Linked DNA regions of Homo sapiens: region 1 is linked to region 2. Evidence: promoter capture Hi-C in human tissues and cell types (Jung and others, 2019). All regions are on one chromosome and are shown on one strand. Each heading gives the region's core, a stretch centred on a gene start or on the middle of the fragment in contact. The rest is flanking DNA. Distances are from core to core; before and after follow the strand shown.

Region 1 (5,444 bases), core at 2,167-4,666, 160 kb before region 2:
TATGTTCAGGATTCATCTATATTGTAGCCTGAATCAGAATTTCATTCCTTTTTAGAACCGAATAGCATTTTGTTATTTCTATATAATACCTTTTGTTTATAAGTTTTTTGGGGTGTTTTGTTTTGTTTAGAGATAGAGTCTTGCTGTGTTGCCTAGGCTGACCTCAAACTTCTGGGCTCAAGCGATTCTCCCACCTCAGCCTCCCAAGTAGCTGGGTATACAGGCTTGTGCCACCGTGCCTTACTACATTTTGTTTACTCATTCATCTGTCAATGGACATTGGGTTGTTTCCAAGATTGGTAATTCTTCATTGATAAAATAAGCACTTTAACTAAATCTTTTTTATTTATTTATTAATTGTTGAGACGGAGTCTCGTTCTGTCACCCAGGCTGAAGTGCAATGGCGTGATCTTGGCTCACTGCAACCTCCGCCTCCCGAGTTCAAGCGATTGTCCTGCCTCAGCCTCCCAAGTAGCTGGGATTACAGGCATGCACCACCACACCTGGCTAATTTTTGTATTTTTTAGTAGAGACAAGCTTTCACCATGTTGGCCAGGCTGATCTTAAACTCCTGACCTCAAGTGATGCACCTGCCTCAGCCTCCCAGAGTGCTGGGATTACAGACATGAGCTACTACACCCGGCCTAAACCTTGCATTTTTAAGAGTGGAAACTTTCTCTTTGTGTAGGGGACAGGGTAAGAGGAAGATAAATGAGTTCTTCCTCCTTTTAATTCTCTTTGATCTCCTGGTGATGCTGAAAAAAGAAAAACGAATTAGGTACTCTTCTGCCTGAAAAAAGAAGAGGTTTTCTAGACAAGCAAGACCTTTAAAAAGTATCAGAATTCTTTATGCCTTTACACCCAAAAGATAATTAACATATAGATTTGACTCACATTAGCCTATGAAACTGCAAACATTTTCATGGCCTCAGCATTCTCATATTTCTAGGTAAGGATATACTTTCAGAAGTACTCCATGGTAGCACTTAGCCCTATTGTGATCATTTACTTTTCTGTCTGCCTTCTTTTCTACTCCCTGAATTTCTTGAGGACAGTGACTGTGCTGTAATTTACCTTTGTATTACTGTCTATAACTGGAACCCGATCCGAAGGATTGGATGACTTTGGATTACTTTGTACCCCATGCTGGGTGGTCATAGATATGCAAGATGCTTGTTGACTGATGAGTAGCATGCAGCTTTCCTCATCAGTCATTGGCAAGACTATAGTTATTTAAAGGTGTGTCTTGACTAGCTATAGGATAGTTACAACATTAGAAATAAAGCAACTGACCACTGCTGTCCTATGTGTGAATCTTACTAGAAAGATGTAATTATTAATATTGGTCATATGACTTAAAACTTTAAGAAAAGGAGAAAACAGTATGATGATTCTCTAGAGAATTAAACATGGAATTACCATATGATCCAGCAGTTCCACTTTAGATATATACTCCAAAGAAAGTGAAAGCAGGGTATTGAAGAGATATTTGTATACCCATATTCATAGCAGCATTATTCACAATAGCTAAAAATGGAAGCAACTCAGGTGTCCATCAGTGAATGAATGTATATGTGACATATACATACAGTGGCATATTATTTGGCGTTAAAAAGGAAGGAAATTCTGAAACATCCTACATGGATGAACTCTAAAGACATTATTTTAAGCAAAATGAGCCAGTCACAAAAGGACAAATACTGTATGATTTCTTATATGAGGTACCTAGAATACTCAAAATCTTAGAGACATAAAGTTAGAATGGTGGTTGCCAGGGGCTGGAGGGAATGGGGAGTTGTTTAATATGTACAGAGTTTCCATTTTGCAAGATTAAAAAGTTCTGGAGGTGGATGTCAGTGATAGTTGCACAGCAGTGTGAGTGTACCTCATGCCACAGAACTGTACACTTAAAAATGGCAAATTTCATGTTACTACATGAAATTTATTTTATTACAGTAAAAAAAATTATAAAAGAAGTACAGGATAGGTGTAGTGACCCACACCTGTAATCCCAGAGCTTTGAGAGGCCAACATAGCTGAGACTCTGTCTCTACAAAAAAAATTTTTTTAATTAGCTAGTCATGGTGGTGTGCACCTGTAGTCACAGCTGTTTGGTGGGGCTGAGTTTGGAGGATCACTTGAGCCTAGGAGTTCAAGGCCGCAGTGAGCTGTGATCATGCCACTTCACTCCAACCTAGGCAACAGAAAGAGACCCCGTCTCTTTTTCTCTCTCTCGCTCTCTGTCAACTCTCATTCACACATGCACACATACACACAAAATAGAAGTACTGTCTTCGCTCAAGATTTATTCTTACCCTGCAGGAGATAATCAGTGATGGTCAAATCAACAACAGTGATATGGGGCAATGAAACATCAATAATTAGTTCCCCCCATTCCCCCTTCAAGGTCACCTTGAAGGAGCTGGTTGGGAAAAGCAGGTTTCTATTGGTCTCTCAGGGTGTGACAGTTTGAAAGACAACAAGGATTGACAGCTGAAGGGGCAGGACAGTTTTCACCTTTCCTTAGTAAGTCCGTCCCAAGCAAGCTGGCTGCATGGGAGAGATAGATTGGGAATTTGTGGGATTGGATGACTTTGAATTACTTTGTACTCCATGCTGGGTGGCCTTGCCATAATTTGTCCTCTGAACTTTCTCTCAGAAGTAGAACTGGTGAAGAGAAGGGGCAGCAATGGAGATTCATCCAAGTAAAGGAAGGAGTAGGGTTAAGAAAGTAGTGGTAAGCTTAGGGGACAGATGAGATAAAACAACACTGAGATAATCTGTTCAGCCCAGTAACTGAGTGAAGGCTGTGGCTTTCTGCTTTTGTTGTTGCTGCGTGGGCTTCAGTAGGGTTTGAACAGGTGGGAAGAGTTGGGAGAGCACAATCTGACTTCCCCTGAACCTCTCCCATCTGATAAGACCAACTTTTGATATTTGGGCAACTTCAGTTATTTCCTCCAAGGAAGAAAATCTGTAGGAAAGCCTGAGTGCAGTGAGTGATTCTAGGTTGTTGTGAAAGCTTCAAGGACATTCCTCAACATGTTCAATTTCTTGGGATGACCTAGTATTTGATAAATCAGAAGTTGCTAATAATTTTGCTTCATTTCTTTTCTTTTTTCAAGACAGTCTTGCTCTGTCACCCAGGCTGGAGTGCAGTGGCGTGATCTCAGCCCACTGCAACCTCTGCCTCCCAGGTTCAAGCGATTCTCCTGCCTCAGCCTCCTGAGTAGCTGGAATTACAGGCACCCGCCACCACACCCAGCTAATTTTTGTATTTTTAGTAGAGACGGGGTTTCACCATATTGGCCAGGCTGGTCTTGAACTCCTGACCTCGTGATCTGCCCGTCTCGGCCTCCCGAAGTGCAGGGATTACAGGCATGAGCCACCATGCCTGACCAGAATTTTGCTTCATTTCTTTCTTTCTTTTTTTTTTTTTTGAGACAGAATTCTGCTCTTCTTGCCCAGGCTGGAGTGCAATGGAGCAATCTCAGCTCACTGCAACCTCCACCTCCCAGGTTCAAGCGATTCTCCTGCCTCAGCCTCCCAAGTAGCTGGGATTACATGCATGCACCAACATACCAGGCTAATTTTGAATTTTTAGTAGAGATGGGGTTTCACCATGTTGGCCAGGCTAGTCTCGAACTCCTGACTTCAGGTGATCCACCCACCTCAGCCTCCCAAAGTGCTGGGATTACAGGCGCGAGCCACCATGCCCAGCCGTGCTTCATTTCTTTAACAAAGTTTCATTCAAAAGGTATTTTGTTTTGAAAAAACTTACTTTGACTGAAATAAGCAGAAGCATCAAGTTAAACATGAAGCTAACAAATTTTGCAACCTGACTTCTTACAGATCCTTATGAAAGTTTATGTGAATATTATATAATAACGTTATTTAGATTGCAAAATTAAAAGAGCTTGTAACAAACTCCTAAAGAGCATTTCTTCTACTTTATTTCTAGGCATAGATATCTTGGGACCTTAAATGAAAAATTGTATAATTCTGTGAATTTAGAATTTTTGTTTGTTTTTTGAGACGGAATCTTGCTCTGTTGCACAGGCTGGAGTACAATGGCGTGATCTCGGCTCACTGCAACCTCCATCTCCTGCGCTCAAGTGATTGCCCTGCCTTAGCCTCCTGAGTAGCTGGGATTACAGGCGCACACCACCATGCCTGGCTAATTTTTGTATTTTTAATGGAGACAGGGTTTCGCTATGTTGGCCAGGTTGGTCTTGAACTTCTGACCTCAAGTGATCCAGCTGCCTCAGCATCCCGAAGTGCTGGGATTACAGGTGTGAGCCACCGCGCCTTGCCGAATTTAGATTATTTATTTTTTTTTTGAGATGGAGTCTTGCTGTGCCGCCCAGGCTGGAGTGCAGTGGCATGATCTCGGCTCGCTGCAACCTCTGCCTCTTGGGTTCAAGCGATTCTCCTCCCTCAGCCTCCAGAGTAGCTGGGACTATAGTTGTATGCCACCATGCCCAGCCAATTTTTTTTCTATTTTTAGTAGAGACAGGGTTTCACCACGTTAGCCAGGATGGTCTCAATCTCCTGACCTCGTGAACCACCCGCCTCGGCCTCCCAAAGTTCTGGGATTACAGGTGTGAGCCACCGTGCCCTGCCTAGAATTTTTTTTTTTTTTTTTGAGACGAAGTCTCTTTCTTGTCCCCCAGGCTGGAGTATAATGGCACGATCTCAGCTCACTGCAATCTCTGCCTCCCAGGTTCAAGCGATCCTCTTGCCTCAGCCTCCTGAGTAGCTGGGATTACAGGTGCCTGCCACCACGCCCGGCTAATTTTTGTATTTTTAGTAGAGATGGGGTTTCACCATGTTGGCCAGGCTGGTCTTGAACTCCTGACCTCAGGTGATCCACCTGCCTCGGCCTCCCAAAGTGCTGGGATTGCAGGCGTGAGCTACCGCACCCGGCCCCAGCCTAGAATTTTTTAAAACATTAAATTTTATGCTAGTTGCATAATAACACTCAAAATACCAAGTTTTAACTCCTAAGTCATGCTGTTGGATAGATCATGAAGCTTCTTAAGATTAAATTCTTTATGGTTCTGATATAATAAATGTGCTGTACAGCCATGTCTTTAGTCTTGAATCTCACAAAGCTGCTTCACTGGTTGTTTGAACAACAGATTGTCAATGTACTTCCTTCTCTTTTCATTAGCTGAATAGTTTAACTTATTGAGCATGCCTGGTTTTTTGTCTTCCAGCAATATCCAGATTATTATGCAATAATTAAGGAGCCTATAGATCTCAAGACCATTGCCCAGAGGATACAGGTATGAAGATGACCATAAGTAAATGATTGTGGTTTAGAGCAGATTGGCCTATGATCTTTCCTAGAAGCTTTTAGAAAACAGAGAAGCTAGTTGTCTCTGTAAGGGGTTATTAGCAAATCATGTAAATAAATTAAAATAGTGTTACTGATTGTAGCTTTG
Region 2 (5,024 bases), core at 1,508-4,007:
GTCAGAGAGGAAGGAACCCCAAACTGCTTCCCCCTACCTTTGGTCAGATCAGGGAGGGTGCAGGGCTGGGTTCTGGACCGTGCTCCTCTCCCGCCACAGGCTCCACTGCACACACCTAGCCACGTGCCCTCGGTGAAAAGCTGCTGAATGGGCAAGTGCTAAGGGCCTTCCAGGAAAGCCTTCCTGCCTCGCTGCCCAAACCCATCTTCACTCCAGTCCTGTTGCTGCCCTTACTGAACAGGTTACCCGGGATATCCTTTCCCCTCAGAGCTTCCACTCCTAATATAGTTGTTCCTTGGTGTCTATGGGGGACTGGTTCCAGGACCCTCCTCAGATACCAAAATCTGTGGATGCTCAAGTCCCTGGTATAAAATGGAATCGAGGCTGGGAGTGGTGGCTCACATCTGTAATCCCAGCACTTTGGGAGGCCGAAGAGGGTAGATCACCTGACATCAGGAGTTCGAGACCAGGCTGGCTAACATGGAGAAACCCTGTCTCTAATAAAAACACAAAAATTAGCCAAGTGTGGTGGTGTGCGCCTGTAGTCCCAGCTACTTGGGAGGCTGAGTCAGGAGAATCCCTTGAAGCTGGGAGGCAGAGGTTGCAGTGAGCTGAGATAGCGCCACTGTAATGCAGCCCGGACAACAGAGAGAGACACCATCTCAAAAAAAAAAAAAAAAAAAAAAAGGCATCGAATTCACATATAATCTATGCACATCCTCCCGTATACCTTAAGTCATCCTTAGACGACTTATAATACCGAATACAATGTAAATGCTATGTACATAGAAAAGTCTGAACATGGGGTTGGGCACGGTGGCTCACACCTGTAATCCCAGCACTTTGGGAGGCTGAGGCAGGTGGATTACCTGAGGTCAGGAGTTACAGACCAGCCTGGTCAACATGGTGAAACTAAAAATTCAAAAATTAGCTGGGTGTGGTGGCGGGCGCCTGTAATCCCAGTTCTCGGGAGGCTGAGGCAGGAGAATCGCTTGAACCTGGGAGGTGGAGATTTCACTGAGCCGAGATCACGCCACTGCCCTCCAGCCTGGGCTACAGAGCGAGACTCCACCTCAAAAGAAAAAAAGTCTGAACATGTTCAGTAGAGATGCCATTTTATTTCCTGAATATTTTCAATCCAGGGTTGGTTGAACCCAAGTACAGGGTGCACAGATACAGAGGGCCAACTGCACTTACAGTGGCTCTCGGCTATGCAGGGTGCTGGGATAGAGGCCACGTAGCTGTGTTAGAGTGGCCAGCACTGCTGCAGCCCCATCCACAAGGAGTGGTCAGAGCCATAGGTCTCTGACAAGGAAAAAACTCGAATCTGAGGCCCCTCACTGACCTCTGTCCTCACTGCCCAGAGCATGAGGAGGTGGCGGAGGCCTTTGAAATTCCCTTGCATGGTACACAGGGGGAAACTGAGTTAAGGGGAGGGCAGGAGCTTACCTGCAGGGCTCTCAGCACAGCCCTGGAACCCTTGGCTCTTCCCCCATCACTGTCGCCTTCTCAGCCTCATATCTTCCTGTCCCCAGCCCTGGCCTGGTCCTGAAGCTGGTGAGGCCCTTCTCCCTGCTGCCTCTCTGAGGGACCACAGGCATCCAAGAGAAAGCGCCTGATGGTGGCAGGGGGCCTAGGCCCCTGGCTGGACTGCCTGTGGGATCCTGGGCAAGTCCTCCCCGCTCTGGACTTTAGTCTGGCCATCTGTGCCATGGGGATAGTGGTTGCTGCTCCAGGAGGCAGACACGCTCAGCCTCACAGGAGAGAGACTACCCCCATCACCAGGGTGGGAGGCTCTTCCAGAAGCTCCCAGAGGCCCCTACCATGGGGCCTGAGCAGACCTGCAGCCAGGAGCCTGTCACAGGGACCTGACCGAGGGGCTGGCTGTGGCTGCATACCAGGACCCTGTCTGCTCGCCAGCACACACGGATGGCCATCACAGGCAGGGGTTTGGAGCATGGCTTTAGAGTGGGAATGGCCTGTCCCCATCATCCTAGGGCTTCGGGTTCCTCACGAGGAGGACAGGAGGAGTTGCCCCGAGGCTGTGAGGATTCAAGGGGACCTGCCCGGGGCTGTGGCTGCTCTGTGGCAGCTCTGAGGCTGAAGTGTGTCCTTGCCAGCTGCTCATAACCCCGGACACTAAGGGTGAGTGACTCATTCTGCTTCCCGGTACTCTTGGGGCTGGACACAGGCACACACATGTGCACACACTTGCCCCACGTGAATCTGTAGTCCTCGGGGGTTGGAGGTGATCACATCTTCAACCCCCAGGTGAGGGCCACATAAGACCTGGGCCTCCGTCTGGGCCAGAAGGGCAGGACAGGCCTGCCTCTGTACACTTCAGCTGCACGCTGGGGAGCCCCGGCCCCGCATAGTCAGAGGAGGGTGGGCTGACACACCCCTGAACCCTGGGTGGCTGGACGCAGACCTCAGACTGGGGAGGTGGGCACAATAGCCAGCCCCCAGGCCTGCTAAGAGGCCAGACAGGCGCCAGCTGCGGTTTCTCCCCAGGCCCCTGCCCCTCCATGTCAGTCCCTCCCTGTTCCCACCGCTGGCCGGCAGGGCCCAGACGCCGTGTGCCCCTGCGACTGGCTCACACTTACCTGCCCCCTGACGAAGCTGAAGCCTGCCAGGCAGAAGGCCAGGAGGCAGAGTGGGAGGAGGCCCCGGGGCCCCGCCATGGCTGGTGGGCACGCTGTCCAGGACAGAGTCGGGGCGTAGGGAATGAGCTCTAGGAGGCAGGCACAGCACAGGCAGGCGGGACGGGGCGGGCAGTGGCCTTAAAAGCAGCCCGGAGGCCCCGCCAGCTCACCCCCACAGGAACCCGCCAGGATTTCCTCCTGCATATCAGCAGCCTGCAGGCGGAAGGGAAGGTGCTGGCCACTGACCCCCCATGGGCGGCCTGAGCCCTGCTCGGGGCTTCCCGGCTGGGACCCTCCTGGCATCACAACCTGGAAGTCCAGGCCACCATGAGCCCCGGGACCTGGGCTCTATCAGAGGTTCTGAAGCAAATCCAAAGGCACACGTGAACGAGTCCCCCGCCTGCGAGCCCAGTGTGTTTCATTCAGAGGCTCCTGGGGTGCTGGTCGGCGGAAGGCAGGGCAGCCCCTGAATGGGTCTGTCTGTTCCTGCCTCCACCTTTCCAACTCCAGGGCGCTCATGGGGCTCTGACTCGCTACAGGCACCCTGCTAGCCCACCAGACCCACATCCCCTCACTAGCCCCAGCCACTCCTGAGCCGCTGGTCCTGCCCGCCAACCCCCATCCACCCTCCCTGCCTCCCTATCTGCCCTCCACTCAGCAGCCCATGCTCAGCCAGCTTGCTGCAGCACCTCCAAACCCCTCTCCAGCTGGCTGGTCTCTCTGAACTCTCCCCAGACAGGTCTGCTCCAGCCGCGCAGGCCTCTCTGCTCCTTCAGTGAGCTCTCCCGGCATGTGCTGCTACCCTAGATTGTCACACTCTGGCTCCTTCTCACAGGTGGTCTCAGGTCAAGGGCCACCACTTCAGAGCGCCTCCCTGGTCTCAGCCTGCAGGTGGCCCTGCACCTGGTTCACCTGGCAGCACCAGCCACCAGCTGACATTGGCTTGTTTCATTTGTCTCCCCTGGAACATTGGCTGTGGAAGAGTAGGGGCGCTGTCTGGCTGATTCGCACAGTGGATGCTCAATACACGTGTGCAGAAGGAATAAATGAATGGAGGTGGCTACTTTTATGATCCCTCTGTTACTGGTGGGGAAACTGAGGCTCAGAGGGGCTGGGTAGCTTGTCTGAGGTAATCAGTTTTCATATCCAATCCCAGGGCTACTGTCTGAAGCCACCACTGCCTGCACAGCCAGCACCCCCAAGAGGTGCAGTGGGCCCAGGCTGAGGGCCTCTGCGTGCCAGGGCTGCACGTGGTGGGCCTTGCCTCCAGTTGTCACTACCCCCAACTGCAGACGGCGTAACAGTTGGGGAGACAGGAGTGGGCCAGAGCCCGGTGGCCATCTGTAAATGCTTTGGTAAAGGCCAGGTTGGGGAAAGTTTCTCCTCCCCAGCACACCTCCACTCCCATCAGTTTGGAGGGGCCTTCAGGCAGGCCTGAGATCTGGCTGGGATGGGGGTTGCAAGGGGAAACCCTCCCCACATTCCCCACACCCACAGTCTTCCTGGGGGTGAAGGGTCCTCCAGGCAGGACCCCCACTCTGCTGGCACCAAGGGAAACGGGGGAACAGAAGCAGGCCTGGGACCCAGGCTGGCCACGCCACCCACCTCTCCACAGCCCTGCCTGGCCTGGCTGCCCCAAGGTCCTGGGGACTGAGGCTCCTGGCTGGGCCAGGATGAGTTATGTGGGGCTCATAGGCCCTGCTCTGGCAGCAGGAATGGGGTTGGGGAAGAGTGTGGCATGGGGTTGGCTACCAAAATCCCAGGTCCTACCTCAGCAGGCTCCCTGAAGCAACCCTCAGGGAGGGGCCCATGAGCCTCATGTTTCAGGGACATGAAGACAGACACAGATGGGTATGTGCCCCTCCCTCCACTGTCCACCACCTGGGTCCACCTCCCCACAGACCTCCCCTGCTGCCATTCAAGGGCCACCTTGGTGAGATGCCCCGGCCCCCACCAGCCACCTCAGACTCTGGGATCTCTCTGTCCTCCTCGCCCCTCCCCCACTCTCAACAGGGGTTGTGAAACAGGTGGGGTTGGGCCCAGGGGTGACTGACACATAAGACCTGCAGGACAGCCTGAAGAGGGTGGCATGCCCCGCACCCAGGCAGAGGGGCAGCGGCTGGTGTGTCAGGGGTGCCCTGAGGAGTTTCTTGTTTGCCCTGCGCTCATGGTTTAGCCACAGCCCAGCATGGCACTGTCCAGAGAGGCCATGGCCCTGTCATGCCTCCCATGTTCCAAGAAGCATCTGGCTCCTGGAGGGCTGCTCCTTCCTTTCCCCCAACCCCTCACCCTCCTGTCTCCAGGGCACCCTCCCTCCCCCATGTGACCACGCCCTGGACGGAAGCCCTGCTGGGATCCCAGTGACCCTTGGTTTAGAAGATG

Evidence for each region. The method cuts DNA at HindIII sites, captures the fragments that hold promoters and counts their contacts. A contact is called where the count stands out against the background at its distance.
Region 1: a contact is called between a fragment that was not itself captured here and the fragment with the promoter of STAB1 in region 2, in 2 of the 25 tissues and cell types used here (aorta and liver).

What each region holds. Positions count from the first base shown.
Region 1 is chr3:52,651,583-52,657,026 of GRCh38, reverse strand. PBRM1 (polybromo 1) reads left to right here. Exons shown (of 32, transcript NM_001405607.1): 7 at 5,217-5,285. Among named protein-coding and RNA genes, the nearest start is that of PBRM1, 32 kb to the left of the region's middle. The HindIII fragment of the contact is 3,551 bases long and covers 1,641-5,191 here.
Region 2 is chr3:52,493,071-52,498,094 of GRCh38, reverse strand. It overlaps STAB1 (stabilin 1), which reads right to left and starts at 2,757. Exons shown (of 69, transcript NM_015136.3): 1 at 2,604-2,757. The coding sequence starts at 2,681. The HindIII fragment of the contact is 11,021 bases long and covers 1-5,024 here.